Regions from separate parts of the Homo sapiens genome. Here regions 2, 3, 4, 5, 6 and 7 are each linked to region 1. Evidence: promoter capture Hi-C in human tissues and cell types (Jung and others, 2019). All regions are on one chromosome and are shown on one strand. The core of a region is centred on a gene start or on the middle of the fragment in contact, and the rest is flanking DNA. Distances in the headings are between cores, read along the strand shown. Region 1 holds the start of NAALADL1 (N-acetylated alpha-linked acidic dipeptidase like 1). Region 2 holds the start of SCYL1 (SCY1 like pseudokinase 1). Region 3 holds the start of MALAT1 (metastasis associated lung adenocarcinoma transcript 1). Region 4 overlaps FRMD8 (FERM domain containing 8). Region 5 holds the start of SLC25A45 (solute carrier family 25 member 45). Region 6 overlaps SF1 (splicing factor 1). Region 7 holds the start of DPF2 (double PHD fingers 2).

Region 1 (3,812 bases), core at 344-2,843:
GCCCACTTCGGCCTCCCAAAGTGCTGGGATTATAGGCGTGAGCCACAGCGCCCGGCCCCTAGTCAGAATTTTTGATGGAAAAGAAATGGCAGGGAGAGGGCCAACAGGAGGGACTTAAGTTGAATATTCAAAACTATTTCACAGGAGGACTTAGACTTCTGGAATACCAAACCTGAAAATTGTACTCAACCCCTTTATTTCCTACAGCTCAGAGAGGGTCAGGGAGGCATCCGAGGCCACACAGCCCATTGGTGGGACAACCCGAAAACACCTTGCCTTTCCTGCCCCACCCTGGGGCTTGGTTCCCCACTCAACACTGCCTCTTCTCCTTCCCCTTCCCCTCACTTCCTCCAGTCCACTGCCCAGCCCCTTCCTCACCGAGGCCTCCTGCACTGGGGGACTGCCACTCACCTTGGCCCCACGCCCTACACCCCCATATCGAGTCAGGGCAATGGTGCCTTCAAGTTTGATGCCCTGAGTCTGTAGCTCCTTAAAGTCTTCTTCCGCGCCCCGGTTGGCATAGACGAGGAGGCCCTAGTCCCAAGAGGGGGTGATCCTTAGAGCTGGGCCCAGCGAAGTGTGGGTGGGGAAGGGGGGTGGAAGTTTGCATGGCAGGAGGGAGAATTTAGATTCTGTTCCCCCACCTCACCCAGAGCTTGTAAGCTCCCCAAGAACAGTCACCCCTCATTTCCTCCATGTCTGGGTGCCCTGTAACAGACCTGGCCTTGAGCAGAGCCACTAGTGTTTGTTGAATGACTGATGGAGGAAAGGAGCAGCGATGGAGTGTCCCGGTGAGTAAATTCCGGAGGGCGCGCTGTGCCCCAGTTGAGGCACGTTCCCTGGGTCAGGGTGGGGAGAACCCTGGGTGGAACCAAGGGAGCTGGGCCAGAGCAGTAGGGGGGGTTCTGGGCCCACCTGTGGGGTTCCAGAAGGAGCATAGGCAGCATAGGGTTGTACCACATCTGGCCCCCCTTGCTCCCCGGTCACGTTCTCCTCAGTCCGGTGGCAGGAGTGGATGATGCCCCCAGTGGGGCCCACTGTTGGAGGGGTGGCAGTATCATGGCTGGGCCCAGCAGCTCCCCACCCCCGGGCATTCCCAAGACTGGGCAGGACCTCACCGATGTCCACGACGTTGGGCTGCTCCTGGCTAGGGAAGGACAGCAGCACTTCGTACGTGGAGGCCTCGGCCGAGTCCAGGCCTGACTCTGGGTCCTTCCAGCGCTGCAGCAGCAGCTGCACCAGGTCCTCATCCCGAGGGCTGGAGGCCAGGTGTGGCTCCCTGGAGAGTTCTCTGCAGGGTGGGCAGAGGGAGGGGCAGGGCCAGCATCAGGGAGGGGGCCTCTGGCAAACGGAGGAGCAGATGGCCCCACTTCTCACCTGAGGTTCTCCCGGATCCTGTGGGCATCCAGCTGCCCCATGACGGTCTCCAGGATCTCCAGGTCCAGGTCCTGGGGGGCCAGTGAGTTGGCTTTTTTGGGGATGGCAAAGTGGCCGAGGATGATCCCCAGCCCCAAGAGGGCAGCAGCCCCCAGCCCCAGCCCCAACACCTTCGTCCACTGCATCCTGCGGACTCTTGGCCAGCTGGGGTAGGACTGGTCTATAGGTTATTCCCTATAGAGGGGGTGTTGTGCCTGGTTAAACATTACCCCATGGGTGGCACTGCCCTTTGACCCCCAGCTGGCAGGGAGAGTGAGGGAACATCCCGCAGTGAGAGCCAGGAGCCATCCACATCCACCACATCCTGCACCATTTGCCTGGAATGGCTCTCCAAGGGCAGCAAGGTCACCCAGGGACACTGAAGCCGAGAGGGAAGGGGCTCATCCAGGGTGTCCCAGGAAAACAGAGGCCAAGCCAGGGCTGGAACTCAGAGCTCCTGTGTTCACAGCAGGGCCGTGCCCACTGCCCACCCTCACTGCCTCTGCCTCCCTCCAAGGCAGCCGATCTACAGCATACCCAGCCCTACCTGCCTGAGCAGATTTTGAGTTGAGATCCCCCTTCTTGCTGGACGTAAGCTGTGTGACCTTGGGCAATCCACTCAGCTTCTCTACACCTGTTTTCTTTTTTTTTTTTCTAGACTGTGTCTTCCACTGACACCCAGGCTGGAGTCCAGTGGTGTGATCTCGGCTCACTGCAACCTCCACCTCCCGGGCTCAAGTGATTCTCCTGCATCGGCCTCCCGAGTAGCTGGGATTACGGGTGTGCACCACCATGTCCAGCTAATTTTTGTATTTTTAGTAGAGATGGGGTTTCACCATGTTGGCCAGGCTGGTCTCAAACTCCTGATCTCAGGTGATCACCCGCCTCAGCCTCCCAAAGTGCTGGGATGACAGGAGTGAGCCACCGTGCCGGCTATGGTGTCATTTTCATTAAACAATATGGCATCTGTAGAAATAGCTAGTGCAGTGTCTGACATGTAGTGGGAGCTCATCAATTTTAACTACTCATCCCTCATCTGACTCTGGAAAATGTAAGGCCTAGAGCTAAAGGAAGAAGGAGGACCCAGAAGAACTCTCTGTGTCTATCCTGAAGGGAGCCCAGCGATACGAGGAATGGGAGTCCTGGGAAGGGAGGCTGTCCCAGAGGAGGCAGCAGGGGAAGCCCATGCCTCCCTGGCGAGGTGACTTCCTCTTCTATCCCCTGGCTCTGCCTGGACTCCGTCATCCACCCTCCTATTTATCCATCCACCCATCCCTCCATTCACTTATTCATTCCTTCCTTTATACATGCAAGCACTGTTCATTCTGTGCTATACTAGAGCCATGCAAGGCTGTGGGGAAGCAAAATCCAGCAGGCGAGGCAGACAGGCTTTAGGTTCAGCCATGTGGTAAGTGCCCTGTAGAGGGAGGATCACCATGCTCCCAGTGAAAGAGTGAGGAGTTCTGACTAGGAGGGAACATCTGAGGGGGTCCTCCAAGGCTGAAAAGGTGTTCCAGCATTTGCAAGGGCTGAGAGGGAAGTGAGACCCCAAGTATGCCATACACATACTGAGCCTCTTCCAGACCTCACGGAGAGCCAGGAGGGGCTGGGGGGGTCCCTAGGGACTTGAGCTGGGACTTCTCCCACCCTCCCATGGCCTATCCTGCCTTGACTCTGCCTCGCAGGTTGCAGCCCATGGATGGGCTCAAAGATGCCTGCAGAGCTTGGGGGCTGGATCAGGGCAGAGCGTGTGTGTGTGTGTGTGTGTGTGTGCACGTGCATGTGTGTGTGTGTGATTTCACAGACCCCTCTCAGAGCAGCCTCCTTCCTGCTCACAACCCCATTTTGCTGGCACCACCATCTCTTGTGCTGCTGGTGAGGAGGTTCAGCATGGGAGGACTAGGGGTGGCTGGGAAGGGATGTCATGTGATCAGTGACTTCAGGGAGGTGCACCAGGAAGCCACAGTTCTTGGCAACGTGATTATCGACGCCCAGAATATGACCTTGGATCTTATCAGAAGCCCATCGGTGCAGGGAGCATACACCTTCCTTATGAGGACACAGGACAGTCACCACCAGGTGGGGAGTGGGATGCCAAGGTCAGCTGATAAGTTGAGGGACTGAGGCAGCAACCCCATGGTCCTACCCCACCCACTCCTGGAAGGATTTAACCCCTCAATCATGTGAAGTCACAAACAGGACGCCTGGACAAAAGTGTGTGACATCTGAGTGATAACACCTGGGACTGTGGTTTGTGTTGGAGAGTGTGTAAACAGCTGTGTGTGTGACACCCAAGAGATCCACTCAGGCTGTTGGAATCCACTGGTGTCTACATGGCTGTAGGCACCAGACGTTAACTTAGTCAATTTTCTTTCCTTCATCTTTGCTGTGTGGGT
Region 2 (3,812 bases), core at 1,313-3,812, 470 kb after region 1:
TCTAGGTCACTTCTCACAATGTCCCTTCAGCACCTGACCCTATACCCGCCGGTTATTCCTAGGTTATATTAGTAATGCAACAAAGAGTAATATTAAAAGCTAATGATTAATAATGCTTATAACAATGATTGATAATTGTTCATGACCATCTCTATATCTAATTTGTATTATGACTATTCTTATTCTAACTATTTTCTTTTTTATACTGAAACAGTTTGTGCCTTCAATCTCTTGCCTCCGCACCTAGGTATTCCTCCGCCCACACATATGTGGGGGAAAGGAAGCGAGATCAGACTGTTACTGTGTCTATGCAGAAAAAAAGAAGACATAAGAAACTCCGTTTTGATCTGTACTAAGAAAAATTCTTCTGCTTTGAGATGCTGTTAATCTGTAACTTTAGTTCCAACCCTGTGCTCACAGAAACATGCGCTGTATTGAATCAAGGTTTAAGGGATTTAGGGCTGTGCAGGATGTGCCTTGTTAACTATATGTTTGCAAGCAGTATGCTTGGTAAAAGTCATCGCCATTCTCCATTCTCTATTAACCAGGGACATGATGCACTGTGCAAAGCCACAGGGACCTCTGCCCGAGAAAGCCTGGGTATTGTCTCCCCGACTGAGACAGCCTGATATGGCCTTGTGGGAAGGGAAAGACCTTACCATCCCCCAGCCCGACACCCGTAAAGGGTCTGTGCTGAGAATTAGTAAAAGAGGAAGATCTCTTTGCGGTTGAGATAAGAGGAAGGCCTCTGTTTCCCGTATGTCCCTGGGAATGGAATGTCTTGGTGTAAAGCCCACCAGTCATTCTATTCTGAGATAGGAGAAAACTGCCCTATGGCTGGAGGTGAGATATGCTAGCGGTGATACTGCTCTGTTACTCTTTGCTACACTGAGATGTTTGGGTAAAGAGAAACATAAATCCAGCCTACGTGCACATCCGGGCACAGTACCTTCCCTTGAACTTATTTATGATGCAGATTCCTTTACTCACATGTTTTCCTGCTGACCTTCTTCCCACCATCACCCTGTTCTGCCGCAGTCCCCTTGCAGAGATAGTGAAAATAGTAATCAGTAAATACTGAGGGAACTGAGAGACCAGCGCCGGTGCAGGTCCTCGTATACTGAGTGTGCCGGTCCCCTGGGCCCACTGTTCTTTCTCTATACTTTGTGTCTTATTTCTTTTCTCAGTCTCTTGTCTCCACCTGACGAGAAATACCCACAGGTGTGGAGGGGCAGGCCCCCTTCAAACATGTTGGTCAGGCTGACCTGGAACTCCTGACCTCAGGTGATCCTCCAGCCTCGGCCTCCCAAAGTGCTGAGATTACAAGCGTGAACCACTGTGCCTGGCCCTCACCCCAGTTTATAGATGGGGGACCTAACGCACCCAAAGGGAACTGTGTGAGTTCTCACATCCAATGAGGGGCTGAACCGTGATTGAAACCCAGCACCGTCTCACTGTGGCATCTCTGCCCTTGAGTTATCTCCCAAAGGCATCCCAACCAGACTTTTCATAACCAGTCCCAGAATCTCACCAGTGCTCCATAGCTGTGGTTGAGGCACTGTCCCCAAGCCTGGGTCCTGAGACCCTACCAGCAGAAGAACCACTGCCTGTCCAGCCCCTCCTACACAGCTCAGGGGCTGGATCCCCACCAGTGTGATGTGCTGATTGAGCTAACACCACTCCATGGCTGTCTACACAGGCACTGAGAGATGCAATCCGTTGGCTTGAGAGCCGGGCAGCTGAGCCCAGGAGAGCAGGGTCCCCTCCCAGCCCTTTGGCCTCTTCCAGACCTGCCCAGTTGCTCCTTCTCCCTCCCTCCTTTCCTGGGGTCACTTCTTCTTCCCTCCTCAGTCTCTCCTTCCTCCATTCCCTGGGTGCCCGCCCCTGCCCCGGGGTTCTGGACCTCCTTGGAACCTTGGATTCACTCTCTGCCTCTCACCCACGCTCTTTCTCTGGGGCGTCTCCTCGTGCTTCTCTCATGGTCACTTCACCAGGACCGACTCCTCCCCGGAGCCTGGAGGCACCCACTTGCTGGTGGGAGAGAGTGTCTGGCGTGGGGCCAGTCTCCCTCTCTGGGTCTCTGCCTCACTCCTCACTGCACCCTCTCATGCCTGTCAGTCTTTCTACCTCTCCCCCTTTTTGCCTCGGTTTCCCCATCCCTCTGTCCCTTCTTAAGCTCTCATCCTTACAGTACGCTAGAAGGCAGGCTCTATTATCCTTTAGGATTTAGGCCTCTTTAGATAAAAGGGCTCACAGGCTTGGAGGGTTTTAAGTGACTTACCCGGCGGCGGAGTACTGATCTTAGTACCGCCCGCCGCCCCGGACTGCCCCGCCCCTCCCTAGCCCCCCCATCCCCGCCCCTCCCTAGCCCCCCCATCCCCGCCCCTCCCTAGCCCCCCCATCCCCGCCCCTCTCCCGCCCCTCCCTTGTCCCCGCCCCTTCCCGCCCCAACTCAGGTTCTGCCCCACCCCGCCCCAATTCACGTCCTGCTCCGCCCCGACGTAGGCCCCGCCCTGGCCCCCGGGCCCCGCCCCCGTCTGACGCAGGCCCCGCCCCCTCTCCGCCCCGCCCCGGCTCGGGCGGCCGGAGGACCCGGAGCTAAGGCGCCCGAACCCGCGGCGGCGGTGGGGACGATGTGGTTCTTTGCCCGGGACCCGGTCCGGGACTTTCCGTTCGAGCTCATCCCGGAGCCCCCAGAGGGCGGCCTGCCCGGGCCCTGGGCCCTGCACCGCGGCCGCAAGAAGGTGAGTGCGGCCGAGCTCCGTAGGCCGCGGTCGACCTGGGCCTTGCCTATTCCGCGCCGCCGACCCCGTCGCGTTGCGCCCGGCCTGACGTGGCGGCGGAACCAAGGGGTAGCAGGCCGGGGAGGGGGCGGGCAGTGCCTACGTGGCGGGCGGAGGGACCGAGGGACCGACAGGCGGACAGGGCCGGGGTCACGTGGGCCCGGCGAAGTGTCCCTAAGGCTGACCTGGGGAGAGACCTGGCTGCGGGCCCTTGTCTTCCGGCCACACAACAGCTCTGGGACCATCTCAGGCCCCGCTGCCCTCCCCTAGGCCACAGGCAGCCCCGTGTCCATCTTCGTCTATGATGTGAAGCCTGGCGCGGAAGAGCAGACCCAGGTGGCCAAAGCTGCCTTCAAGCGCTTCAAAACTCTACGGCACCCCAACATCCTGGCTTACATCGATGGACTGGAGGTACCTGCTGCCTTGCCTGCCCGTCTCTGCCCCTCACGATGTCCTGGTTACCCACTCCTGTCTCCCCTCCTGCCCTGTTTCCACCCTATGTGCCCCAGCACCCCCAGATTTGGTTTCCTCTTCCCCATCTCTCCCAACTTCAAGTCGCTTATCTCTCCTTCCTCTCTGCCCCTCCGCCCTTGATAACCCTGTGTCCCCTTCCCCAGACAGAAAAATGCCTCCACGTCGTGACAGAGGCTGTGACCCCGTTGGGAATATACCTCAAGGCGAGAGTGGAGGCTGGTGGCCTGAAGGAGCTGGAGATCTCCTGGGGGCTACACCAGATCGTGGTGAGGTGGGGGGCAGTGGTGATGAGAGCAGGGATGGGGGGTTGCAGGTGCTGGGGCGTGATGGCTCCTTTTGCCCCCAGAAAGCCCTCAGCTTCCTGGTCAACGACTGCAGCCTCATCCACAACAATGTCTGCATGGCCGCCGTGTTCGTGGACCGAGCTGGCGAGTGGAAGCTTGGGGGCCTGGACTACATGTATTCGGCCCAGGGCAACGGTGGGGGACCTCCCCGCAAGGGGATCCCCGAGCTTGAGCAGTATGACCCCCCGGAGTTGGCTGACAGCAGTGGCAG
Region 3 (3,812 bases), core at 930-3,429, 440 kb after region 1:
CTATCACACTTTAATCTTCCTTCAAAAGGTGGTAAACTATACCTACTGTCCCTCAAGAGAACACAAGAAGTGCTTTAAGAGGTATTTTAAAAGTTCCGGGGGTTTTGTGAGGTGTTTGATGACCCGTTTAAAATATGATTTCCATGTTTCTTTTGTCTAAAGTTTGCAGCTCAAATCTTTCCACACGCTAGTAATTTAAGTATTTCTGCATGTGTAGTTTGCATTCAAGTTCCATAAGCTGTTAAGAAAAATCTAGAAAAGTAAAACTAGAACCTATTTTTAACCGAAGAACTACTTTTTGCCTCCCTCACAAAGGCGGCGGAAGGTGATCGAATTCCGGTGATGCGAGTTGTTCTCCGTCTATAAATACGCCTCGCCCGAGCTGTGCGGTAGGCATTGAGGCAGCCAGCGCAGGGGCTTCTGCTGAGGGGGCAGGCGGAGCTTGAGGAAACCGCAGATAAGTTTTTTTCTCTTTGAAAGATAGAGATTAATACAACTACTTAAAAAATATAGTCAATAGGTTACTAAGATATTGCTTAGCGTTAAGTTTTTAACGTAATTTTAATAGCTTAAGATTTTAAGAGAAAATATGAAGACTTAGAAGAGTAGCATGAGGAAGGAAAAGATAAAAGGTTTCTAAAACATGACGGAGGTTGAGATGAAGCTTCTTCATGGAGTAAAAAATGTATTTAAAAGAAAATTGAGAGAAAGGACTACAGAGCCCCGAATTAATACCAATAGAAGGGCAATGCTTTTAGATTAAAATGAAGGTGACTTAAACAGCTTAAAGTTTAGTTTAAAAGTTGTAGGTGATTAAAATAATTTGAAGGCGATCTTTTAAAAAGAGATTAAACCGAAGGTGATTAAAAGACCTTGAAATCCATGACGCAGGGAGAATTGCGTCATTTAAAGCCTAGTTAACGCATTTACTAAACGCAGACGAAAATGGAAAGATTAATTGGGAGTGGTAGGATGAAACAATTTGGAGAAGATAGAAGTTTGAAGTGGAAAACTGGAAGACAGAAGTACGGGAAGGCGAAGAAAAGAATAGAGAAGATAGGGAAATTAGAAGATAAAAACATACTTTTAGAAGAAAAAAGATAAATTTAAACCTGAAAAGTAGGAAGCAGAAGAAAAAAGACAAGCTAGGAAACAAAAAGCTAAGGGCAAAATGTACAAACTTAGAAGAAAATTGGAAGATAGAAACAAGATAGAAAATGAAAATATTGTCAAGAGTTTCAGATAGAAAATGAAAAACAAGCTAAGACAAGTATTGGAGAAGTATAGAAGATAGAAAAATATAAAGCCAAAAATTGGATAAAATAGCACTGAAAAAATGAGGAAATTATTGGTAACCAATTTATTTTAAAAGCCCATCAATTTAATTTCTGGTGGTGCAGAAGTTAGAAGGTAAAGCTTGAGAAGATGAGGGTGTTTACGTAGACCAGAACCAATTTAGAAGAATACTTGAAGCTAGAAGGGGAAGTTGGTTAAAAATCACATCAAAAAGCTACTAAAAGGACTGGTGTAATTTAAAAAAAACTAAGGCAGAAGGCTTTTGGAAGAGTTAGAAGAATTTGGAAGGCCTTAAATATAGTAGCTTAGTTTGAAAAATGTGAAGGACTTTCGTAACGGAAGTAATTCAAGATCAAGAGTAATTACCAACTTAATGTTTTTGCATTGGACTTTGAGTTAAGATTATTTTTTAAATCCTGAGGACTAGCATTAATTGACAGCTGACCCAGGTGCTACACAGAAGTGGATTCAGTGAATCTAGGAAGACAGCAGCAGACAGGATTCCAGGAACCAGTGTTTGATGAAGCTAGGACTGAGGAGCAAGCGAGCAAGCAGCAGTTCGTGGTGAAGATAGGAAAAGAGTCCAGGAGCCAGTGCGATTTGGTGAAGGAAGCTAGGAAGAAGGAAGGAGCGCTAACGATTTGGTGGTGAAGCTAGGAAAAAGGATTCCAGGAAGGAGCGAGTGCAATTTGGTGATGAAGGTAGCAGGCGGCTTGGCTTGGCAACCACACGGAGGAGGCGAGCAGGCGTTGTGCGTAGAGGATCCTAGACCAGCATGCCAGTGTGCCAAGGCCACAGGGAAAGCGAGTGGTTGGTAAAAATCCGTGAGGTCGGCAATATGTTGTTTTTCTGGAACTTACTTATGGTAACCTTTTATTTATTTTCTAATATAATGGGGGAGTTTCGTACTGAGGTGTAAAGGGATTTATATGGGGACGTAGGCCGATTTCCGGGTGTTGTAGGTTTCTCTTTTTCAGGCTTATACTCATGAATCTTGTCTGAAGCTTTTGAGGGCAGACTGCCAAGTCCTGGAGAAATAGTAGATGGCAAGTTTGTGGGTTTTTTTTTTTTACACGAATTTGAGGAAAACCAAATGAATTTGATAGCCAAATTGAGACAATTTCAGCAAATCTGTAAGCAGTTTGTATGTTTAGTTGGGGTAATGAAGTATTTCAGTTTTGTGAATAGATGACCTGTTTTTACTTCCTCACCCTGAATTCGTTTTGTAAATGTAGAGTTTGGATGTGTAACTGAGGCGGGGGGGAGTTTTCAGTATTTTTTTTTGTGGGGGTGGGGGCAAAATATGTTTTCAGTTCTTTTTCCCTTAGGTCTGTCTAGAATCCTAAAGGCAAATGACTCAAGGTGTAACAGAAAACAAGAAAATCCAATATCAGGATAATCAGACCACCACAGGTTTACAGTTTATAGAAACTAGAGCAGTTCTCACGTTGAGGTCTGTGGAAGAGATGTCCATTGGAGAAATGGCTGGTAGTTACTCTTTTTTCCCCCCACCCCCTTAATCAGACTTTAAAAGTGCTTAACCCCTTAAACTTGTTATTTTTTACTTGAAGCATTTTGGGATGGTCTTAACAGGGAAGAGAGAGGGTGGGGGAGAAAATGTTTTTTTCTAAGATTTTCCACAGATGCTATAGTACTATTGACAAACTGGGTTAGAGAAGGAGTGTACCGCTGTGCTGTTGGCACGAACACCTTCAGGGACTGGAGCTGCTTTTATCCTTGGAAGAGTATTCCCAGTTGAAGCTGAAAAGTACAGCACAGTGCAGCTTTGGTTCATATTCAGTCATCTCAGGAGAACTTCAGAAGAGCTTGAGTAGGCCAAATGTTGAAGTTAAGTTTTCCAATAATGTGACTTCTTAAAAGTTTTATTAAAGGGGAGGGGCAAATATTGGCAATTAGTTGGCAGTGGCCTGTTACGGTTGGGATTGGTGGGGTGGGTTTAGGTAATTGTTTAGTTTATGATTGCAGATAAACTCATGCCAGAGAACTTAAAGTCTTAGAATGGAAAAAGTAAAGAAATATCAACTTCCAAGTTGGCAAGTAACTCCCAATGATTTAGTTTTTTTCCCCCCAGTTTGAATTGGGAAGCTGGGGGAAGTTAAATATGAGCCACTGGGTGTACCAGTGCATTAATTTGGGCAAGGAAAGTGTCATAATTTGATACTGTATCTGTTTTCCTTCAAAGTATAGAGCTTTTGGGGAAGGAAAGTATTGAACTGGGGGTTGGTCTGGCCTACTGGGCTGACATTAACTACAATTATGGGAAATGCAAAAGTTGTTTGGATATGGTAGTGTGTGGTTCTCTTTTGGAATTTTTTTCAGGTGATTTAATAATAATTTAAAACTACTATAGAAACTGCAGAGCAAAGGAAGTGGCTTAATGATCCTGAAGGGATTTCTTCTGATGGTAGCTTTTGTATTATCAAGTAAGATTCTATTTTCAGTTGTGTGTAAGCAAGTTTTTTTTTAGTGTAGGAGAAATACTTTTCCATTGTTTA
Region 4 (3,812 bases), core at 789-3,288, 350 kb after region 1:
CAGTACTTTGGGAGACAGAGGCAGGAGGCTCACCTGAGGCCAGGAGTTCGAGATCAGCCTGGGCAATCGAGCAAGACCCTGTCTCTACACAAACTAAAAAAACCTTAGCCATGGCTCACACCTGTAGTCCCAGCTATTGGGGATGCTGAAGTGGGAGGATCACCTAGGCTTAGGAGGTAAGGCTGCAGTGAGCCGTGATTGTAACACTGCACTCCAGCCTGAGCAACACAGCTTGTCTCAAAAAAAAAACCACAAAGGCGGGACATGGTGGCTCACACCTGTAATCCCAGCACTTTGGGAGGTCAAGGCAGGTGGATCACGAAGTCAGGAGTTTGAGACTAGCCTGGCCAACGTGGTGAAACCTGTCTCTACCAAAAATACAAAAATTAGCCAGGCACAGTGGCCCACGCCTGTAATCCCAGCACTTTTGGAGGCCAAGATGGGTGGATCATGAGGTCAAGAGATCGAGACCATCCTGGCCAGCATGGTGAAACCCCGTCTCTACTAAAAATACAAAAATTAGTGTGCGTGGTGGCGCACACCTGTAGTCCCAGCTACTCAGGAGGCTGAGGCAGGAGAATTGCTTGAACCCAGGAGGTGGAGGTTGCAGTGAGCCAAGATCGTGCCATTGCACTGCGGCCTGGGTGACAGAGCAAGACTCCATCTCAAAACAAAACAAAAGGCCGGGCGCAGTGGCTCACGCCTGTAATCCCAGCACTTTGGGAGGCCGAGGCAGGCAGATCACGAGGTCAGGAGATCGAGACCATCTTGGCTAACACGGTGAAACCCCGTCTCTACTAAAAATACAAAAAATTAGCTGGGCGCCGTGGCGGGCGCCTGTAGTCCCAGCTTCTCAGGAGGCTGAGGTAGGAGAATGGTGTGAACCTGGGAGGCAGAGCTTGCAGTGAGCCGAGATAGTGCCACTGCACTCCAGCCTGGGCGACAGAGCGAGACTCCGTCTCAAAACAAACAAAAAAAAACAAACCCAAAAAAAACCAAAAACTAACATCTTACAGCAATATGGTACTTTTGTTTTAATTAATGACCCGGTATTGCCATTATTAGCCAAAGTGCCTACCTTAGTCAGATTTCCATAGTGTTTTCCAGACATCCCTCTGTGCCAGGATCCCACCAGGACCCCACACTGCATTTAGTTGTCACGTCTCCCCAGGCTTCTCTTGGCTATGAAGGACCCTCCTTGTCTGTGATGACCTTAGGTCGGCAGTGTTAGGGAGCGCTGCTTGGGGTATACTGTAGCATGCTGAGCGGGGCTGAGGCTCGGATGAGGGGAGCTCAGTCTGACCAGGCTCTGGAAGGAGCCGTCGCGCTGGAGCCAGAACCTGGCTTCCTGGGCCTGAGCCCCCTCACACAGGGACAGCGCCTCTGCTCAGTGTGCCCTCCCATTCCCTCGCAGGCAAGGGGATCAGGCGAGTGAAGCCGAAGCGCACCACATCCTTCTTCAGCCGGCAGCTGTCCTTGGGCCAGGGGAGCTACACCGTGGTGCAGCCCGGCGACAGCCTGGAGCAGGGCTGAGGACGCTGCACCCGGCAGGAGGAGGGCGACTGGGGGCCCTGGCCCGGCACTGTCCTCCTGAGGGGCAGGCGCCGGCTGCAACAGTCTCATGGGTCACCACGTGGGGAGGGCTGCCTCAGCAGGTTTCTCAGACCACGGAGAAGTGACTTTTGGGCCCGGGGCCATGCCCGGGCTGTGCAAAGCTGGCCAGGGCCTCCTGTAGGGCTCCTCTGCAGCCTGCCCTCCCTTCCCCCGGATGCTGGGCCCTGCTGCTCTCTCAGGACCATCCGATCAAGCTGCAGCTGCCACCCTCACCTAGAAACATGCCTTTGTGCCCACCTCAAGATGGGCAGTGTCCCTGTTCTGAAGTGCCCAGTGGCAGCTCCAGTGGTAGAGGACCAAGGATTGAGGTTTGGGACCTGAAGCTCCAGTGTGTGCCTTTGGCCTCTTCCCTGGACTTGGGTGACCAGTCTCCGTCTTCCTCCTGCTAGTGCTCCACCCCCCGGACTTGGATGACCAGTTTCCCACCTTCCTCCTGCTGGTGCTCCATCCCCCAATACCAGGCTGGGCCACCACTCTGAGGAGGGTAGGAGGGGCCTCCCTGGATTGAACCGGGACAGAAACACGGTGAGGGCCCCCACCACACCTCCCTGGTTGAATCAGGAATGGAGGGAGCCAGGCAGGGCCCTACCTGGGGTCCTGTGCCCCTCGTTCTGGTCTCCTTTGCAGGCACGAGATACCAGAAAGAGCATGCCTTTCTGATAGCCTTTGGTGATGTCACTGCTGGGAGGTGGCTATCCTGTGGACCACCTGGCCTCCAGACCCACACTCACAGTCTGTGAAAAACTGAAAATCCCCTGGTGGGCACTCCCTGGAGCCCAAGCAGCTCCCCTAGGGGACTGACCGGACCTGACCTCCCCTCCCTGTGTCTGGGTCTTCAGGTTTTAGTTTGGTCTTTGTTCATCTGAGTTGTGCTGGGGCAACGCCAGGAAGTGCCCTGGGTACCTCTGCTGTGCGCTCCTTCCCAGGTGGCGCCATGGATTCCTCTGGGGGCTGGCGCATGCCCAGGAAAGCCTGGGCCACACGGGACACTCTCTTCTTTATCGAGGACACTTGGAAAGGTGACTGATATGGGTGCTTGGCTTCTCTGGTCCCAGCTTGCCCTCCGGGGAGCAGGGGCTCTGTCTTGTCCCAGATGAGCTGAGAGCCCCTGAGAGGAGGGCTTTCCCAGCCCTGGGACCCTCCGAGGTGGGTGTGCGGGTCTCACAGGTGCTTCCTGGGACTTCCTGTGGCTGCACAGGGCTTGGCTTTGTCTTCGTTCCCGGTGGAAAACCGTGGGAGAGGAAGCTTGGGCCTCTACTCCAAGTATCAGAGCCTGTTCACCCTCCTCCCTTTGGTAGCTTGTGAATGTGCCAGGTGTTTCGAGGTAGGCTTGCCTTCTGGCAGCATGGACTTTGTTAAAATAATAGGCGGAAAGAAGAGGCCTGGGAAGGGCCCCCAGTCTTTTGGAATGTCCTGGTCACAGGGTCATGTCAGCTGCCAGTTCTCGTCTCCCGTCCTGGAGTTGCTCGGTCTTGCGGAGCTGCCCGCCTGCCTGTTCTGGCGGCTCCAGCGCAGGCTGTCCCTGCTGCTTTGATTCCAGGTGATTTTATTTTTTTTATTTTTTTATTTTTTTTGAGACGGAGTCTTGCTCTGTTGCCCAGGCAGGAGTGCAGTGGCGCATCTCGGCTCACTGCAACCTCTGTCTCAAGCGATTCTCCTGCCTCAGCCTCCTGAGTAGCTGGGATTACAGGTGCATGCCACCAGGCCCCGCTGATTTTTGTATTTTTAGTAGAGATAGGGTTTCACCATGTTGGTCAGGCTGGTCGTGAACTCCTGACCTCATGATCTGCCCGCCTCAACCTCCCAAAGTGCTGGGATTATAGGCGTGAGCCACCGCCCCCAGCTGATTCCAGGCGAATTCTTCTCTGATGGGCGGGCGAGGGTGTGTTCGTGTGATGGGTTGGAGTGTGTGTGTCTGAGTACACAGATGATGTGTTTTCCCTTCAGCTTCTTACGTTTTCTGAGCATCCATTGTGCCTTAACATTTTCTGCTTGTCCTTTGGGACAAAGCAGTATTTTACTCATTCTTTGAATGTTCTCATTCTTTTGTATCATGTGACTTATTAAAATCAGTTTCTAACAAACTCTGGGGCAGCTCATGATATGAAATAATGAGGGTGTGTCCGTGACAGTCCAAGAGTTGATTACAGGCTGCATGTTTGGTTTTCATGAAACGTACGTCAAGGTGTGCAGCCCTC
Region 5 (3,812 bases), core at 710-3,209, 320 kb after region 1:
CTGCCCACTGCCTAGCCCTGCCCTCCACAGCAGAGGCTGGTTCTGGAGTTTGGGGGAGGTCGCACCCCCAGGAGGCAGGTTCAGAACGTCCCTCTCTTTCTCCTAAGAGGAATGCCACCCAGAAGCTGGGCTGGGACCACAGCACAACAGGCCTCAGGGCCCGGGACTGCGGCCCACAGCCAGGTGGGGCAGAGGCCCAGAGGGGACTCAGGACAGCAGGTGAGGTCAAAGGTGAACTTCCTTTGTAAGCCCAACAGGGTGGGCCTGGAGAGCAGGGCTCAAGGTATAGGGTGCTCACCTGGCTCTCCCGCCCTCTGCAGGTGTCAGGCAGAGTGGCCTTGGAAGGCAGAGGCAGCACCCTCCCACCTGTGCCTTCCTCTCTTCTTCCCATCGGCCACTCCCCAGAGGACTGGGGACAGCTGGCTCTGGGGTGCTCCACGGAACCCAGACTTTTTTTTTTTGACACAGGGTCTTGCTGGTGTTGTCCAGGCTGGAGTGCAGTGGCATGATCATGGCTCATTGCAGCTTCAACCTCCTGAGCTTAAGGGCTCCTTCCACCTCAGCCTCTGGAGTAGTTGGGACCACAGGCGTGCGCCACCGCGCCTGGCTAATTTTTGTATTTTTAGTAGAGACGGGGTTTCACCATGTTGGCCAGCCTGGTCTCGAAATCTTGACCTCATGATCCACCTACCTCAGCCTCCCAAAGTGCTGGGCTTACAGGCATGAGCCACCGCGCCCAGCCTCTCATTTCTTATAAAGACAGGGTCTTCCTATGTTGCCCAGGCTGGTCTCAAACTCCTGGCCCCAAGTGATCCTCCTACCTCAGCCTCGCAAAGTGCTGGGATTACAGGTGTGAGCCACCATGCCCTGATTCTTTTTTTTTTTTTTTTTTTTTTTTTGTGGCAGGGTCTCATTCTGTCACCCAGGCTGGAGTGCAGTGGTGCAGTCATAGCTCACTGCAGCCTTGAACTCCTGAGCTCAAGCAATCCTCCTAAGTAGCTGGGACTACAGGTGTGAGCCACCATGCCCAGCTAATTATTTTGATTTTTTTGTAGAGACAGGGGCCTCCCTATGTTGCCCAGACTGGTCTCAAACTCCTGGGCTCAAGTGATCCTCCCGCCAGGCCGGAACTCAGACTTTGGTCTCTGCTCCTCCCATGTCACCCATCTTCCCGAGGAAGTGACCTACCATTGGGTGTGATGTGACAGAAGGAAGAAAAATGTCTCACCAGAGATCCAGCCAGCCACAAATTCCTCCACCGGCATTGTCTGGGCTTGCGGGAACTGGTGGCTCCAGCAGAGGAGACAGAGTTGAATTCCCCCCTCTCCCTCCCCTGGCCCACGCTGATAACCTCCCACTAATGTTTAACCCTGGCGGGAAGGTGAGAATTGGCCTGGTGCCCAGACCTCCGGCAACTGGCAGAGGAGAGCGAGCCAGTTCCGGTGACCCTGGCCACCTGGAGGAGTCGTGCAGAGTACAGTCTCACGGGCCAGGCGTGCCGGGACCACAGAGGCCCTGATCCCCGAGCCCGGCCAATGATCCTCGCTCTGAGGATGGCAACTGGGTTCCTGCCCCATGGTCGGGCCCCTCCAGGGCTGCCTTAGTCAGCAAGAGGCAAGCCCCTGCCTGCCCAGCCAGCCCAGCTCCACTCCCATTCATCTCCACCAAGGGGCATGGCCGCCCCCATGCCACAGAGAGAGGCCGGGTGCGGAGGTAGCGTGGCCACCAGGGGGTAGGCCCAGCCCGCATTTGCCGCTGCGTGGCAGGGTGGGGAGGAGCCACTCCCAGGAGTGACTCACCAGGCCTGGCTGTTCTCTTCAGGGTTGTTTACGACTCCCCCGACTCCCCCGTGTGAGTCAGAAACACAGCCTTCCTCGGCTTCCTCCTTCCCAGGGGAAAGATAGGGGTTTTGATTATTTAAAGTGCGTGTTGATCTGCAATGGCACCATTCTGCTCAGTCAAAACCAAAACCCTTTCAAGGATCTGTGAGCCACAGGGTGCCGCCCATTCTCCTCTGACCTCACGTCCTGCCACCCACCCCCTTGCTTTCTCTGCTGCAGCCACCCGAGCCTCCAGACTCTTCTTCAGTCAGCCTTCTGTCTCCAGGCCTGTGGACTGGCTCTTCCCTCTTCCTGGGCACTCTTGCCCTGGCACCCCTCCAGCTGGGGCTCAAATGTCACCACCTGGGTGAGGTCTGCCCCGCCTCCCCAGCCGGAGGCACTGCTGGCTCTTCCTCTCTTTCTCCATCACAGTTATCACGCCAACATACGATGGGAAGAACTTGTCTGTCTGGACAGGGATCTCTGGGTGTTCTGTGCACAGCGGGTGGCACAGGGTGGGCTCTCAATAAATCCTGAGTGACTGAATGAACGGAAATGTCAGCCAGCAGCATCAGCGGCAGCCTGGGGCTCCAGTTCCCTCTTCCCATCACCAAACGGCCCTGGGAAACATCAAGGCCCAGTGACACCTGCACCCTCCCCTCCAGATCTCCCCGCAGCTCCTAGTCTCCCATGGGGGACGCCCAAGGCCCAGTCCTTCTCTCCCTTCTCCTCTCACTGTGGCCAAGGCAGAACCCACCCACCCCTGCTGCTTTCTCCCGGGTGGACAGATTCGGGAAACAGGACCTCCTACCTCCTGCCTCTGGAGCTGCCTGGGGCTCCTTGGGCCACCCCCAAAGATCATCCTAAAAGACCATCCCCAAAGACTGGCCTCTCGTGGTGGCTTGGGCTGCAGTCCTGGTTCTGCTTCTTATTCCTGAAACTGCCTTTGCAAAAACTATAACTGATACAGGCCAGGCGCAGTGGCTCACGCCTGTAATCCCAGCACTTTGGGAGGCCGAGGCGGAAGGACCACCTGAGGTCAGGAGTTCGAGACCAGCCTGACCAACATAGTGAAACCCCATCTCTACCAAAAATACAAAAATTAGCCGGGTGTGATGACGGGCGCCTGTAGTCCCAGCTACTTGGGATGCTGAGGCAGGAGAATCGCTTGAACCCGAGAGGCAGCTGTTGCAGTGAGCCAAGATCATGCCACTATACTCCAGCCTGGGCAACAGAGCGAGACTCCGTCTCAAAAAAAAAAAACAAACAAACAAACAAAAAAAAAACCCTCCTGTCTCTCGTACAGCCAGCTCTGCATGAATTAAACTCTCCTTATTGCAATTCCCCTGTCTTGACAAATTGGCTCTGTCTAGGCAGAGGGTAAGGTGAACCCAATGGGCGGTTACATTATCTCTCTCAGTGATGTTGAGCAACCTCTTCTGTGGGCCTTGGGGTCTATTATTGTTTGCCAAAGTAGGACAGCAGTCGGGCTAATTGATGTCTAAGCCTCTCAGCTCTAAAGGCTGGAGGCCGCCTCCTCCCTCACTTCAGAATGGGTCTCATTCTCTTTTCCAATCTCACCGCCTCACCCCAGTTTGAGAAAGACCCTCATTCCCACTTCCCTACAGCCTTGCTGAAGGGAAGCCCACCTAAGCATGGCGTCATCTTGTGAATCTCTAGCTCACAACCTCCAAAATGTTCTTACTGTCTAACACGCCTGCCCCATATCTGTCATCCTGGGGTTCAAGGCCTCCCCCATGGTGCCACCCACCTGCTATGCTCTCACACAGCGGGGGTCTTTCCTGGGGTCCTAACCATGCTCGTGCAGTTCCCACTACCTGGAATGCCTTTCCTTCCCCACCATCAGCCTCCCGGACTCTCTCCCAGTGCCCCTCCTTGACTAGACCCGGGTTCTAGCCTCCCCACCACCACCGCAGACACTCCCAGGTGTCAGTCTTTGACATAAAACAGAGATGTGATACTCACCTCTTA
Region 6 (3,812 bases), core at 310-2,809, 290 kb before region 1:
AATGTCCTACCAAAAAGGGGAAAAGTAAGCCAACAGTCCCCAATTAGGCACAAAACGGACACATCTCACAGGCTCTAAAGGAATTCTATATCCTATAGACCAGCAGTTACTCACCTGGGCCCGATGAGCAGCCCCACAAAGTTGATTTCTGGGTACTCATCTTGTGGAATCATGACTTTATCACTCACACGTGTTGCTGGAGGTCTAAGAAAGAAAAGCCTGTGTCACCGCACATTTCTGGAGAATGACACAGCCAGCGGCTTTTCTAAAACCAAATATTGGTACCAAGTGCTAATTATGGGTGACTTGAGGCAAGAGGTGAGTAGTACCAATACTGTCCCATCCCAGCAGGTCACCCATGATCTGCATGTGTCTTCATCCCAGATGACCGAGCCCCTCCGCTTACTTGTAATCTGCAGGTGGCTTGAAATCCGGATTGAGTGCAACCATCTCTGTGATGAGGTTGTGCCGCTCCTCTTCCAGCTTTTTGCGGGTGCGGAACTCTCGGGTGTTAAGCCGCTTCCCCTCGCTATTGTAGATGGGCTCAGGGGAAGGGGACCTGTGGGAAACAGACTCCCGTTTACTATTCTGCACCGACTTCTCTCATTCCCACACGGACTATAACAAGTCTTTCCCAGCCCCTCTGCCTCTCAGACCCTAATACAACACTCTTCGGAGGAACCGACCATAACGTGTGCTACTCAAGATCGTGTGGAATGGGGAGATGGAAGCTGGCTTAACGTTAGGGGTCTGGGGTGTGTGTGAGAAAGGAAAAAAATAAAAGATTTTGCATCTAGAAGTGATGAGAGGAAAAAATGTCTATTCTTTGGGGAAAATCTTTGGACTGTAAGTGGCAAGGACAGTATCATCCCCTGGAGTCTTCTTGCCAAATACGGATTTTCTTCCATTTGAAAAAAAATACATATCCCAACTTTATGAACCACAGAAACCCCAAGTTTAGGCAAAAGGTTAACTCTTGGAGAGCTCATGCCCTATGAGGAAAAGCTTCTGTACCCCTAACACATAGTATGTATGAGCTCTTTAACCCAATGCAACTGGGACTGAAGGCTACTGCAGCTACTTGGCCCCCACAATGGAGAGAGATGGTTCGCTTCGTCTTTGCTTTTCCTTCAATGGCCTGGCTGGCTGTGTCCAAGGCCCAGGAGACAACCTGTTTTCTGGCTGTTCGAGGTTGGGGAGTCTGGGTAGAGAAAAACGTTAAAGTGCTAAAGCAGCTTCTGCGAGAGGCTGCAAATGCAGATTTGGTCATACTTGTCTAGGGTCTGAACCTGCAAACAGCAAGGGGAAAACCTATGATTCTCCACCAGAGTTTACAAGTCCAGAAAGCAGATTTTCTCTCTCTCATTTTTTTAAGGAGTAAAATGCTGTTGCTACAAGTAAAAAAATGTAATGATAAAATGGTCAGTTTACCACAGCTGGATTTTGCGGTAATAAAAAAGAGAGGTTACACTCCTAGAATTTTGAGTTAAGATTACAAAAAGGACCATAGCTTGATATTCTGAATGAAAATTTAGTAGCAGCTGCAAGAAGGGAAGAGACCATGTGGATCAGGTTATTAAAAAAACATACTGAAAGTAATCAAGACTCCTATACCCTTGGTTTAGTTGAGAGAACCTTGCCTAGTTGGAGAGCAAGGACTGAACTCGGCTGCTCCCACTGTCTTCAGCCTAAAGGGAACCATGTCACACCACGTTACACACACGATGGAATAAAAGGTCAGGTTTGTTCATGGCTAATGACGGCTAAATGACACCTCCGTTTCTAGCATTTGTATAAACTGTTAGCACAATCCATTAAGAGTGAACAAAAGCAAACATACCCCAGCTCATTAGACTACCATCTTATACATTTAAGTCTACAAGAAAAGTTTTAAACATGTTTTTACTGTGCAAGTTAAGCAGCATCAAAATAACAATAAAGTGGCTTAAGTGATATAACACCTTTTTAAGAAATTATCTTAATTAAGAAAACCCATGCATTTCCCTCCAACCTGGGCTCAAAAGCAAAACCAATCAGGCATTAGGGCCTCTTTCAAAACTGAATAGAAGGGAGGAAAAACCCTGCTCTGGTTTTATTTCTAACATGCTTGACATTTCTAATTCCCACCCCACAGCTGTCTAGAATTAAGCATTCTTAGCTAGTTACAAAAACAAGTCTTACCAGCACCCAATTGGCCATGTGAAGGCCTCACAACAGTTTAACCTCCTCCCAAATTGCAGAAGTGAAAGGCAAAAGCTAGTATTCTAGAGGTTAGACTGGCCCGACTTCTTCACCTCCAACAGGCATCGGCTAGATCAACTAAATTCTAATCCCAGTTATCCAGGAAGCAAAGAAGGTTTGTTAAAAATTCAACCTTTGGAGGAATTGACTGGTGACCTGTAGACATATTATTAAAGGGAAAAAGGCCAAAAAGGCACTAAACAGTTGTGGTCTATGACCTACAATGTAAATTTAAAAAAAAAAAAAATCTTCAAAAAGAAACGAAACACAACACAACCCTACAACCAAAATCTATCTATAGGTAAAATATAGCAAATGTAGTAAGTCAAATTAAAGAGTCAATATGGAGAAACAAGGAAGTTAATGTTTCCTGGCAAAGGGCGGAAGAAAGATGCATGAGTGAGTGACTTCTAAAGCCATTACATCATCTTCCTGATTTAATAAGCTATTAACTGGGTAACAAAAACCAAAAACACTACTTTTTAAAGCAAAGTCTTTTCAACTATTCTGTATGTACTAAGAGAAAATTCAGTGAGAGGGAGAGACTTACTGCCCTTCTAATTAAATGACCAATTTTAGCTGTTCAATCAGCTAATAAAATTCCAGTTTAAAAAAGTTCATCTCCCCCACACAATTTATTTTTCTGAGGTGAGAGAAACTGCAAACTGAAATGACATGACCACAGCTGTTTGAGGCCCACGCTCCCTTTAAGGAAAAAAAAAAAGTAATTTAGGGTTGGTTGCATGCCTTCCCAAAATAGGTGAGAATATTCTGGCCCCTCCCAACACCCCCAAGGCAATGGCCAAGGCTGAAAGTTAACTGGCAGTGAAAGAAGTTGGTTAGAAATCTCATCTGATTTTGAAACCATCTCAAAACCATGAGCAGGAAGACTGCAGCAATGAGCTGACCAGAGCTCCTGGCTTGCTCAAGTTCAGTGATGCTCAAAAATATTTTTAGTCCCTGCACTGTGTACCTGTGAGAAAAACTCTATGCCCTGGGCTTTTGGCCAAAGCAGGTACTGAAAAGGCAGGTTAACGGGCCACCTCACTGTCCCCTAAGGGTGGGTAAATCAGGTTAAGATCTACATGCTTACCAATTGGAAACCAGTTGTCCATTTTCCTGTAACTTTTTATTCTCCCAACATTTTTAAGTTTTATTCCAATTTTCTAACTGTTGACTGACCATACATATTTCTAATTAAACCTTAATCCCCAAAGTGGTCAGGGTACAGTCGTCATACTATGATTTTATTGAACTGACACAATATGTTGCCACCAGTAAAACGTATTGAGAAAAAGGTAAAAGCGTTACTGTCAGCTGGTTAAAACTGTTTCCCAACCTGTCCTCAGGGTTAGGGGGGATGCCCAGGTCTCCTGTGCGCAGTTTACGAGTCAGGTCTTCTATCTGCAGTTGCACTGGAAGAAACCAGGTTAGGAAAGAAAAAAAAGGATGGAAAAAAGACAATGTTACCAATAAACATCTCAAATCTCAACAACAAGCATGAAGAACTCGGAGACTTTGAAAGGGACGACTGATCAGTGAACACATTGAAGCAAAAACCCCCAACCACC
Region 7 (3,812 bases), core at 645-3,144, 280 kb after region 1:
CAATTAAAAGTTTGAATTTAAAAATAGTACTAATAATAAATAGGCTAGCTGCATATAATTGGAAAGGCAGCTTATGAACCCAGCATCAATAGCTTTCAGTTCTTTTAGGATTGTTTAAGAAAAGGTTACATCAGCTGGCCAGGCGTGGTAGCTCATGCCTGTAATCCCAGCACTTGAAAGCCTAGGCGGGCGGAACACATGAGGTCAGGAGTTCGAGACCAACCTGGCCAACGTGGTAAAACTCTGTCTCTACAAAAAATACAAAAATTAGCTGGGGGCACCTGTAATCCCAGCTACTCGGAAAGCTGAGGCAGGAGAATCACTTGAACCCAGGAGGTGGAGGTTGCAGTGAGCTGAGATAGTGCCACTGCACTCTAGCCTGGGCTGGAAGGAAGAATTTGTTAAGGAGCGACAAGAGCAAAACTCCGTCTCAAAATAAATAAATAAATAAATATAAACAAATAATGTTGTTACGAACATTCTTGTACAGCTTTATTTTTTTTTTTTTGAGACGGAGTCTCGCTCTGTCACCCAGGCTGGAGTGCAGTGGCGCGATCTTGGCTCACTGCAAACTCCGCCTCCCAGGTTCACGCCATTCTCCCACCTCAGCCTCTCCAGTAGCTGGGATTACAGGCGTCCGCCACCATGCCCGGCTAATTTTGTTTTTGTATTTTTAGTAGAGATGGGGTTTCACCATGTTAGCCAGGACGGTCTCGATCTCCTGACCTCGTGATCCGCCCACCGTGGCCTCCCAAAGTGCTGGTATTACAAGCGTGAACCAATGCTCCTGGCCTGTTTTTTTTTGTTTTTTTTTTTTAAGAGACAGGATCTTGCTATGTTGCCCAGGCTGGTCTTGAACCCCTGGGCTCAAGTGATTCTCCCACCTCACCCTCTCAAGTAGCTGGGATTACAGGCATGAGGCATTGCACTCAGCTTCTTGTACAGCTTTCTTGTGTGTATATCCAGGAGTGGACTTTGCTGGGTCATAGGGTATGTGTATTTTCAGCTTTAGTGATTATATTTATATATATATATATATATATACATATGTATATATATACATATGTATATATATGTGTATATATATATATGTATATATGTGTATATATATATGTGTATATATATATGTATATATATTTTTTTTCCTTTTTTTTTTTTTTTTTCTTGAGATGGAGCCTCGCTCTGTTGCCCAGGCTGGAGTGCAGTGATGTGGCTCCAGTGGCTCACTGGAGCCTCAAACTCCTGGGCTCAAGTGATCCTCCCACCTCAGCCTCCCTAGTAGCTGGGATTACAGGCATGCACCACCATGCCCAGCTAATCTTTTTTCTTTTTCTTTTTTTCCTTTATTTATTTATTTATTTATTGAGAAGGAGTCTCGCTCTGTCGCCCAGGCTGGAGTGCAGTGGCGCGATCTCGGCTCACTGCAAACTCCGCCTCCCGGGTTCACGCCATTCTCCTGCCTCAGCCTCCCGAGTAGCTGGGACTACAGGCGCTCGCCACCACACCCGGCTAATTTTTTGTATTTTTAGTAGAGACGGGGTTTCACCGTGTTAGCCAGGATGGTCTCCATGTCCTGACCTCGTGATCCGCCCGCCTCGGCCTCCCAAAGTGCTGGGATTACAGGCGTGAGCCACCGCGCCCGGCCCCGGCTCCTGCTCCTCTAAATATTAGAGGCAAGCCTCGAACCGGAGCTCCGGGATGCATGCCAATCTCCGGTTGCGCCTGCGCGTCGGGCTCCCGTGGGGTCCACGCATTTCCTACCCGGCCCCCGCGAACAGGCGTAAAGCTCTTTCTTCAGTGCTCGCTCTAGTGCGCGCGCCCGGACGGCGCCTGCGCAGAGGGCAAGGAACCTGGTACCCCGGTGCGGTCCCGGCGCCTGCGCGCTGCGGACTGTGGGGCTTCTCGGCCCGAGGCAGAGGAACAGGGAAGATGGCGGCTGTGGTGGAGAATGTAGTGAAGCTGTGAGTGGTCGTTTCTTTCTCTCCTAGGGCGGCAGGTTTTGTAAAGGGCCTGGGAGTAGGGGGCGGTGGGGGAAGGGACTAGGCGGAGAGAGGGACATCCCCGGGAAAGCCATGTTGCGACTCCTGGTGGGGAGGGCAACAGGAGACTCCGGAGAAGACGTTGCGCTTCTTTGGAAACTTGTGGAGGCCCTGGTGGGGGCACACTGGAGCCCCGACGGGCGGCATCCCTGCGGGGCTGTGTGGCCTCAGCGTTCCTCGGGGCTGACGGTTTCCAGAGCATGGCGCCCTGCCTGCACGCGAGACTCACCGTCCCGGTCCTCTCCCGAGACGCCTCAGTCCGGAGGAGCGGGGCCGAGGCCCGGGCGGCCCTACGGCTGGCCCGCCGCCCACCCCGCCCCGTCCCGTCCCGTTCGCTGCAGCAACAGGCTCGGCGGCCCCTGCGGAGTGCACTGCGGGGCTGGCTGTTTCAGTTCCAGGCAGCCCCGTGATGTTTGGGAGGATCTTGGGTGGCAGGTACCTAAGACTACAAATATTCTTGGGAAGAATTTATCGAGGAGCGGATCCAGAAGGGAAGGAACTTCAGGGGAGTGGGCCTTGGCCCCGTCCAGTAGCAGCCATCAAAAACCTGCAACTGGACCGAAGCCGTTCAGGACAGCTTAGCCTAAAGGGGCATCTAGGTGGGCATTCTTCCTATTATACGATACCATTGTGCTGGTCAGATTTCAAGCAAAGTTAAAGTTAATAGCTGTTGGGGCCATGGACGCTGGCCTATGAACTGCTTCCTGTGAGTTAAAGATGCTTTGGGACTTGATTTATTCCTACAGAAGAATCAGAATGAGTTTTAGATTGGGTTAATGCATGGTGGGCGAATAGAGCTTCTTTTAATGGGTATGTTGGGCTTGGTGCAAGGGTGGGAAAATTGAGTGGTGTCTAGCTGTCCAGTCAGGGTTTTTGCATTTTGACTGGATGACGAGGTAAAGGTTCGGTAACTCTTCTAAGGGACTCACAGCTTCTCATCTGTCTTTGTCGTGGCCTGAGCCCCACTCTTCCTAAGAGCCTTTTTAAAGAGTAAGTTGCTTCTCCCTCCTGCCTGAAGCCTTTTCTTTGAGAATGCTTTCCCACTTCCATTAAGCTAAGTGCCTTTCCTCCTCTTGTGGTTTGTTTTTTTTTTTTTTAAGTTGCTTTCTGCTCTATCCTGCTGTCTCTTTCAGCCACCCCTCCTCCCAACGCTATTGTCTTTCTCTCTGATCTGCCCACTCCAGTTTCCCCAGCTCTTTCTTCAGGCTGACATTTTTCTCAATTTAGAAATGACACTGTTGATCTACCATTTATCCAGTTATCCTTCCTGACTCAGATGTTCTTTCTTTGTTTCCCTGCGTCTTTGTTGACTTCCCTCATCCCATTGTAAGGGGATGTTTTACACAGGTTTCTCCAAAAATAAAAAGGAAGATTCTCATTGTACTGGGGGAGTATCAGACTTGCCTAGGTTTTGGGAGTTAAACGTAGTGAGGTTCTTCGTGTTGGAAGATTTTCCTCAGAGAAATAGGGTTGCCAGTGCTTTCAAGTTGTGTCATAAGTGAGGGGTTGCCCATTTAAACAGAGCGTGACATCTTGTTTCTCTTTGAAAAACTGTAGAGATTGTGAGCATCACCAGCCACTAATTCCTGAATGCCAGTAATGAGAAACCAACTCTCTCCTCCTCATTTCTAGCTGCACAGGGCCTCAGATCACAATTAATACGTACTCCCACAGAATTATCCCTTTAAGAAGGGGCTTCTATTCTTCCAGTTCATTTGGAGATATGGCACTTCTCTTGATTATAGTGTGCCTAGTCTTCTGACAGCTGATGTT

What was found. Contacts are between HindIII fragments. The study calls those that stand out against the background at their distance.
Region 2: the fragment with the promoter of SCYL1 here is called in contact with the fragment with the promoter of NAALADL1 in region 1 in 4 of the 25 tissues and cell types used here (aorta, heart left ventricle, heart right ventricle and 1 more).
Region 3: a contact is called between a fragment that was not itself captured here and the fragment with the promoter of NAALADL1 in region 1, in 1 of the 25 tissues and cell types used here (heart left ventricle).
Region 4: a fragment that was not itself captured here is called in contact with the fragment with the promoter of NAALADL1 in region 1 in 1 of the 25 tissues and cell types used here (adrenal gland).
Region 5: the fragment with the promoter of SLC25A45 here is called in contact with the fragment with the promoter of NAALADL1 in region 1 in 2 of the 25 tissues and cell types used here (aorta and bladder).
Region 6: a contact is called between a fragment that was not itself captured here and the fragment with the promoter of NAALADL1 in region 1, in 1 of the 25 tissues and cell types used here (hippocampus).
Region 7: a contact is called between the fragment with the promoter of DPF2 here and the fragment with the promoter of NAALADL1 in region 1, in 3 of the 25 tissues and cell types used here (adrenal gland, heart left ventricle and pancreas).

What each region holds. Positions count from the first base shown.
Region 1 is chr11:65,056,960-65,060,771 of GRCh38, forward strand. NAALADL1 (N-acetylated alpha-linked acidic dipeptidase like 1) reads right to left here and starts at 1,594. Exons shown (of 18, transcript NM_005468.3): 1 at 1,378-1,594; 2 at 1,119-1,291; 3 at 916-1,037; 4 at 412-534. The coding sequence starts at 1,562. The HindIII fragment of the contact is 22,908 bases long and covers 1-3,812 here.
Region 2 is chr11:65,522,521-65,526,332 of GRCh38, forward strand. It overlaps SCYL1 (SCY1 like pseudokinase 1), which reads left to right and starts at 2,563. Exons shown (of 18, transcript NM_020680.4): 1 at 2,563-2,744; 2 at 3,054-3,194; 3 at 3,401-3,523; 4 at 3,604-3,812. The coding sequence starts at 2,634. RefSeq lists a silencer at 2,411-2,910. The HindIII fragment of the contact is 17,278 bases long and covers 1-3,812 here.
Region 3 is chr11:65,498,654-65,502,465 of GRCh38, forward strand. It overlaps MALAT1 (metastasis associated lung adenocarcinoma transcript 1), which reads left to right and starts at 392. Exons shown (of 1, transcript NR_002819.5): 1 at 392-3,812. It also overlaps TALAM1. RefSeq lists enhancers at 83-152, 203-282, 1,786-1,915. The HindIII fragment of the contact is 4,315 bases long and covers 23-3,812 here.
Region 4 is chr11:65,409,828-65,413,639 of GRCh38, forward strand. FRMD8 (FERM domain containing 8) reads left to right here. Exons shown (of 11, transcript NM_031904.5): 11 at 1,415-3,698. The coding sequence ends at 1,533. Among named protein-coding and RNA genes, the nearest start is that of NEAT1, 11 kb to the right of the region's middle. The HindIII fragment of the contact is 9,371 bases long and covers 1-3,812 here.
Region 5 is chr11:65,380,687-65,384,498 of GRCh38, forward strand. SLC25A45 (solute carrier family 25 member 45) reads right to left here and starts at 1,960. Exons shown (of 7, transcript NM_182556.4): 1 at 1,800-1,960; 2 at 1,229-1,283. The coding sequence starts at 1,265. It also overlaps a transcript of FRMD8 not described here. RefSeq lists enhancers at 1,069-1,597, 1,146-1,275, 1,263-2,462, 1,406-1,685, 1,598-2,125 and 4 more and a silencer at 3,092-3,386. The HindIII fragment of the contact is 21,887 bases long and covers 1-3,812 here.
Region 6 is chr11:64,769,850-64,773,661 of GRCh38, forward strand. SF1 (splicing factor 1) reads right to left here. Exons shown (of 13, transcript NM_004630.4): 3 at 3,581-3,656; 4 at 407-559; 5 at 115-204. Among named protein-coding and RNA genes, the nearest start is that of SF1, 6.8 kb to the right of the region's middle. RefSeq lists an enhancer at 2,887-2,976. The HindIII fragment of the contact is 3,620 bases long and covers 1-3,369 here.
Region 7 is chr11:65,331,958-65,335,769 of GRCh38, forward strand. It overlaps DPF2 (double PHD fingers 2), which reads left to right and starts at 1,895. Exons shown (of 11, transcript NM_006268.5): 1 at 1,895-1,961. The coding sequence starts at 1,930. RefSeq lists an enhancer at 2,147-2,196 and a silencer at 2,247-2,336. The HindIII fragment of the contact is 14,713 bases long and covers 1-3,812 here.